Linked DNA regions of Homo sapiens: region 1 is linked to region 2. The links are contacts of gene promoters, found by promoter capture Hi-C in human tissues and cell types (Jung and others, 2019). All regions are on one chromosome and are shown on one strand. Each heading gives the region's core, a stretch centred on a gene start or on the middle of the fragment in contact. The rest is flanking DNA. Distances are from core to core; before and after follow the strand shown.

What was found. Contacts are between HindIII fragments. The study calls those that stand out against the background at their distance.
Region 1: a fragment that was not itself captured here is called in contact with the fragment with the promoter of CHST12 in region 2 in 1 of the 25 tissues and cell types used here (spleen).

The regions. Positions count from the first base shown.
Region 1 is chr7:2,612,583-2,616,245 of GRCh38, reverse strand. It overlaps IQCE (IQ motif containing E), which reads right to left. Exons shown (of 22, transcript NM_152558.5): 22 at 1,518-3,663. LOC107986760 (a long non-coding RNA gene) reads left to right here. Exons shown (of 3, transcript XR_001745069.2): 3 at 1,270-1,663. Among named protein-coding and RNA genes, the nearest start is that of TTYH3, 18 kb to the left of the region's middle. The HindIII fragment of the contact is 7,391 bases long and covers 1-3,663 here.
Region 2 is chr7:2,402,041-2,405,348 of GRCh38, reverse strand. It overlaps CHST12 (carbohydrate sulfotransferase 12), which reads right to left and starts at 1,738. Exons shown (of 2, transcript NM_018641.5): 1 at 1,676-1,738. RefSeq lists silencers at 1,442-1,611, 1,702-2,071 and an enhancer at 2,162-2,261. The HindIII fragment of the contact is 33,157 bases long and covers 1-3,308 here.

The sequences.
Region 1 (3,663 bases), core at 895-3,394, 210 kb before region 2:
ATGGCTCACTGCAACCTCCACCAAAATAAAATTTTATTTATTTATTTAGACGGAGTTTTGCTCTTCTTGCCCAGGCTGGAGTGCAATGGCTCGCTGCAACCTCCACCTCCCGGGTTCAAGTGATTCTCCTGCCTCAGCCTCCTGAGTAGCTGGGATTACTGGCATGTGCCATCACGCCCGGCTACTTTTTGTATTTTTAGTAGAGACGGGGTTTCACCATGTTGGCCAGGCTGGCCTCGAACTCCTGACCTCAGGTGATTCACTGCCTCAGCCTCCTAAAGTGCTGGGATTACGGGCACGAACCACTGTGCCCCACCCCTCAAATTTTGTATATTAGCCAGGTGCGTACCTGTAGTTTCAGCCACTTGGGAGGCTGAGGTGGGAGGATCACTTGGGCCTAGTAGTTCGACTAGCCTGGGCAACTTAGCAAGTCCTCATCTCTACAGAATTTTTATTTTTATTTTTTTGAGACAGAGTCTCGCTCTGTCGCCCAGGCTGGAGTGTAATGGCGCCATCTCGGCTCACTACAACCTCCACCTCCCAGGTTCAAGCAATTCTGCCTCAGCCTCCCGAGTAGCTGGGACTACAGACGCACGCCACCATGCCCGGCTAATTTTTGTATTTTTAGTAGAGATGGGGTGTCACCATATTGGCCAGGCTGGTCTTGAACTCCTGACCTCGTGATCCGCCTGCCTTGGCCTCCCAAAGTGCTGGGATTACAGGCGTGACAGAAATTTTTTAAAAAGTGGTTGGGCACAGTGGTGCACACCTATAGTCCCAGCTATCTGGGAGGCTGAGGCAAGAGGATTGCTTAAGCCCAAGAGTTTGAGGCTGCAGTGAGCTATGACTGCACCACTGCACTCCGGCCAGGGCAAGACAGCAAGACCCTATCTCAATTTAAAAATATACATATATTTTCACACACACACACACACACACACACACACACATATAAGATCGATAGAGAGAAAATAGGCTTGGGCAAATGCCAGAGCCAACCACAGTAACTGTGGAGGCTTCGGACAAACTCCACTCAGGATTTAGGGCCCCAGGGCAGGCAGCCACAAGCACACAAAGCCACAGATGCTCCTTGTTCTATGCAACAAAATATTGGAAAACAAAACCCAGATATCAGCTCCTTTTGGTCGTTTCCATCTGTGTTTGATTCCTCAGTAAATTATTCTTTCCCTGCTCCTGAAACAAAAATGAAATCAAATATGGAGAAATAACTCCCTCACGCACGCACATTTTTGTGTCCTCATATCTAAGGAATAGATATTCGACGGGGGACCGGGGTGTCAACAGATGTATCCGAGTTCATGCGTGGCAGGGAGCTGGCGGCGGGACCCGTCCCTCCAGCTGGCTCTCCAACCCCAAGCCTGCATTACGACCACGGCAAAATGCCAGAAGCCCAGAGAAGCGGGGTTTCTGAAGCGGATCGTTTGTTCAGCCCGAGTGCGTGGGGCAGGAACACACCTGGAGGTCATTAAAGAGAAGTCTTCACGGGGCACTCAAGGCACACTGCAAAACAACTTTTTATTTAAAAGGCCAATAATGAGAATAATGAGTTGCACAAGAATGAAAACCTTATCCCTTCCAAAAGATCGGCCTATACATTATGTATAAAGTTAGAATAATTCTAAATACAAAATGCCAAAGACCAGCGGGTCCACTCCTTCCTCTCCTAAGCCATCTTGACAGTTTCACATTTCAGCTTCCAGACGTCATTTCTGTTGCTTTTAAGGGTGCTTACCCAGCCGTGGTCTGTACCAGACAGGGTAGTTGGCACAGCGTAGGCACTGCCAGCAGGCCCTTGGGAGCTTGGCGAGGTGGGAGCCTTGAGAAATAGCTGGCTCGGACCCATGGCGGGGTTTGTGTGTCAACTCCCTGGTCCTCAGAGAATCCGAGCCACGGGAGAGCAAACGCTGCTTCCAAAACCAAAGGAGGAATTTTGCAATCGTTTAGACGGGTTATAATAGAATCTCATTCAGATCTTGAAGGTTATCGGTGCTTTCTGCAGGTTTTTATTCCTCAAAAATGCAGCCAAGCTTTGCTGTGCTTATCTTGGTGGATCTGAGCTAGGTTGGGCTATCTTTTCCTAATTCAATTGCCTTTTTTTTGCAAGGAAGGGGGTTTCTGGTCCATCGGAGGGATCAAGGGCATGGTCCTCACGTCTCGTCAGGAGACAAAAATAGACATTCAGCAGACAGACCACAGCCAGCGCATGCGACCAGCGTCGTTTGGCTATTTTAGTCTCTTCTTAATACACAGACAAACGAGCAAAGAAAAAGCTACTTTGTCCAACACCGGGCCCTGGGTTGGAGTTTAGCCCTGCTTGGCTCTGCCCGCTAGTCTCAGTCAGGTCACTCACCCCAGGCCTGCGGGAACGGTGGTCTTGGTGGTCTTCTCTGGCCCTTCCACCTCTTCTGCCTTGTGGGGACCACCCAAGCCCTCTCCCGACTTGCCCAGAGGCTGCACGCCTCTCTGGCATCACAGTCCGCACGGAGCCTGGCTGTAAGGCTCCACTGAAATCCCCCCGGCGCTGGCTTCGTGCCCCAGGCACACCCACCTCACTTCTGCCTCTTTTCTGCTGGTTTCTGGCCTGTTTGGTCCCAGCCCCTCCCTGCACTCTCTCCGCAGCTGTCTGGTGGGTGATGTGAACCAAGGGACACCCAGGGTCATGGCACTGCCTGGATTCAGTTTGGTAATCGTCGGCAGTCTGTCCCTGGCTTCTGAGCCTGGGGCCTCCTCCTCTTTCTCCCCATCCTGGATGAGCAGGACACGCTGGGGAGACAGCGTCCTACAAAGGCCTCCTAAGAGCTGTGCCCTGTGCCAGGAAAGCCTCCTGTATCTCCAAGGATGTCCCTGGAGCCCTCCAGCTGGTGCCTCTGCTGAGGTCTGTGAGCAGCGGGAATAGGCCTCTAGGGGAGGAGTTGGGGACAGGCCTCTAGGGGAGAGCACACCTCCGGGTACTGCACCTGTGGCTCACCAGCCACCTGCACGGGGCCAGCTTCAGCCTCAGCAGTGTCAGCTCAACAGACGTGACTGCTGTCAACACAGTGGGGCCAGGCCCTGGAGACTGACATCTCCTGTGGCTGCTTGTTTAAAGGGCATGGGATAGAGAAAGAGTGTGTTATTTTAAAGCTGGACTACCTAACAGCCTCTGATAGCAGATACAGCTTTGCTGCTGTTCTTGAAGTTCAAGGTGATGTGGAGGTGTTGCAGTGACAATCAGTACACCGTGAACAACACCTGCCACCAACGTCGACCCTGAAGTGGTAGATGGGGCCTGCTTTGGCACTTGACGCTGGGGCAGGAGTCCCTTTCTTGGGGACTCACTCTCTACTTCGTCTCCCCCGGGAGTTGTCTACTTTCCTAGGCCCTGCCAGCAGCCCCCACAGCTCCGCCCAGCCCACTCCACCAGCTTGCTGCTCCCATGGCTCAGCCCCACTCACAGCTCACCCCTCCCATGGCTAGGCCCCATCCACAGCTCACCCCTCCCATGACTAGGCCCCGCCCACAGCTCACCTCTCCCGTGACTAGGCCCCGCCCACAGCTCACCTTTCCCATGGCTAGGCCCTGTCCACAGCTCACCCCACCCATAGCTAGCCCCATTCACAGCTCACCTCTCCCATGGCTAGGCCCCACCCACAGCTCGCCCCG
Region 2 (3,308 bases), core at 489-2,988:
CTCATCCTCCTAAGTAGCTGGGACTTCAGGTGTGCACCACCACGCCCAGCTAAATTTTGTATTTTTAGTAGAGATGGGGTTTCACCATGTTGGCCAGGCTGGTCTCGGACTCCTGACCTCAGGTGATCCGCCCGCCTCTGCCTCCCAAAGTGCTGGGATTACAGTCACGAGCCACCTCGCCCGGCCTTCCAGTCTTAGCTTCCAACCCAATCCTCAAACCCCACTTCATCAAGAACACGGCGACCCACCATCTCCCCCAAACATCACTTTCACTTCCACATCTCTGCATGCCCTTTGCCTCCAAACGCCCCAATTCATAGGTCCTCTCCACTGTGGAAAATGTCGGAAAATGTCGCCACATTCTGTTAACGCCTGCACCACAGTCTCAACTCCACACAGTTGTAGCCAGGCTGGCCGTGAGCTCCCAGGGCAAGGCCCACGCTATTACCGGCATCTACCCCAGCTTAGCATCTTGCACTCGATTGGAGGTTTGATAATAAAGCTGGAGTCAGCTGAGTGACAGCAGACAGTTACTGCTGGCCCCAAAGCGTCAGCCCAAAGTCCCATAAACTCCTTTGCAGGGAAATCAAACATCTATGCCATTCCAGGCAGGTGCTCTTTCAGATCTCAAGCGTTGCACCTTCGTGTAGCAATCTCCTCATTACCCCTGTTTTCTCTCCATCCTCACTCAGACACCAGCCCTGACTCCCAACACCAGATGCTCACGGTGAGGGGCTAACCCGGGTCCCCGCGTGGGGGTAAGTGGGGGACCCGCTGAGCTGTCCCCAACCACCCACAGCCGGGAACAGCACCGTAGGGCCTGGTGTCCTGGAAGATGTACTGCGTCCAGCACCGCGCCTGCAACTCACATTCCTATTCACCCCGGGGCTTCCGAGTCCCCACAGCCCCGCTTATGAACTAAATAATTTAATAATGCTGGAAACACTATGGCTTGTTGTGCTGCCTGCCAGACGGAGCCTCTGCCCGAGCCAAGGCTTTGCCGGCGGTGTCTCGGTGGCCGGGAGCCCGCAGAGGAGGTCTAAGTCCCACTGTTCCCGGACTAAATGCACGGTTTCCTCTCCCAGAGGGGCAGGGCTGCGGCTTCTGGAGTGAGAGGTCATTTAAGGGATACCCTGAGCGACCTGCCGGTGCTGCTGGCGTCTGCAGGCTCCAGGGCTGCGGTCGGCGGGGCCGGGGAGCCCCGTTCAGGTGACAGCAGGCACACGGGGGCCCTCGGGAGCTGGGGATCCTGGAACTCCAAGCCCGGGAATTGGTCCTACCCCTGCCGGGCGGCAGAGGCTGATGCCGGGCAGGGGGACTCCTGGGGGCCGGCGGGGCCGCTGCAGCCTCTGCTGTCGCTGAATCAGAACCACAGATTTCTCGTCCAGACCCCGAGGAGCCGCAGAACGCGCTGATCAGGGCCCCAGGGCTGGGTCCCCCTGGCCGAGGACGACGAGCGGGGCTCAGAGAGGGCGCGCGCAGGGCCAAGGTCACACTGCGCGCCGGCGCGGGAACTCGAACCCAGGCCCAAGCCGCGCCCGCCAGGCCAGGTTAAGGAGAGCCGACCCGCGCCCCTCAGCGCGGCCCGGGACCCCCGCCCGGGCCCTGGGAGCCCAGCACTGGCCGAGAGAGAGGGAGACCGCGCCCCGAGCCCGCCGCCCGCCGCGCCCCTCACCTCGCGACCCTCACCTCGCGCCCCTCACCTCGCGCCCGCAGCCGCCGCCGCCGCCCCGCGACTAGCGGACCCCCCAGAGGCAGCCCTCGCCGGCCCCGCCCCCGGCGCAGGAGCCCCTCCTACCGGTCGTCTTCTCGCGAGACGTCGCGGCCGCCGGAGGGGCCACGGAGGCCGAGGGGCGCCCGCCCTCAGCGCGCCTGCGCCCGGCCAGCCCGCCCGCCCCCGCCCTCGCGAGCCAGTGCCATGTGGCGCCGTATTTACGGCCAGAGATCGACTCCGCCCACCGGCCGCCACGAGCCACGCCCCTTTCTCAGCAGCCAATCCGCGGCGTTGACTCCGCCCCGGCGGACCGGGCGCGCGGCGGCTCGGGGACGCGCAGCTGTCTCGCCGTTCGACCCGGGAGCTCCACGTTGCAGCCAAACACGATCCCGTTAACCAACCTTTATGCAGTGCCTGTTGTCTATCCGACCCTTTCTCGAGCATCGGCTCATTGGCAAAGGATCGTGATGCTCACCGGCTGGGGCTTGAGACTCGCTGTGTGACCTTGGGCAAGTGACTTAACCTCTCTGAGGTTGTCGCCAATCCGTAAAATATAATAGGTTAGTGACCCTACCTTTCAGGGAGTATGTGAGACAAACGAGATGACACGGGTAAAGAGCTTAGCAAGATGCCTAATGCATAGTGAGCATGCAGTAATTGTTCTTGGCATCAATGTAGTTTTGTGTGTTTGTTTGTTTATTTTTTTAGAGACAGGATCTCACCGTGTCGTCCAGGATGGGGTGCAGCGGTGCAGTCACAGCTCACTGCAGCCTCGACCTCCTGGGTTCAAGCCATCCTCCCACCTCAGCCTCCCAAGTAGATGGAACTACAGACAGGTGCCACCACACCCGGCTAATTTTTAATTTTTAATAGAAACGGGGGTCTCACTATGTTGCCCAGGGTGGTCTTGAACCCCTAGACTCAAGCAATCCTCCTGCCTCAGCCTCCCAGAGCTCTGGGATTACAGGCGTGAGCCACCGCGCCAGGCCCAGTCATTTTTTTTTTAAATTATGGTAAAATATATAGAACATAAAATTTACCATCTTAACCTTTGTTGTTGTTGTTGTTGTTGTTGTTGTCGTTGTTGTTGTTGTTGAGACAGAGTCTCGCTCTGTCGCCCAGGCTGGAATACAGTGGCCCGATCTCGGCTCACTGCAAGCTCCGCCTCCCGGGTTCACGCCATTCTCCTGCCTCAGCCTCCCGGGTAGCTGGGACTTACAGGCGCCCGCCACCACGCCCGGCTAATTTTTTGTATTTTTAGTAGAGACGGGGTTTCACCGTGTTAGCCAGGATGGTCTCGAACTCCTGACCTCGTGATCCGCCCGCCTCGGCCTCCCAAAGTGCTGGGATTACAGGCGTGAGCCGCCGCGCCCGGCCCATCTTAACCATTTTTAAGCACTCCCTGCAGTGGCATTAAGCACTTTCACATCCCCACCATCCACCCCAAGAACTTTTTCAATCCGTGATATTTTTAGTTGGCCCCCTCCGATGGACTCCCGAGGCAGCCTTCCAACCAAGGTCATCTCTTCACTCTTCCACTCCCTGCAGCCAGTCCCAAAGGAGTTCCGAACCCACCGGGCCCTGGAAATGTGGA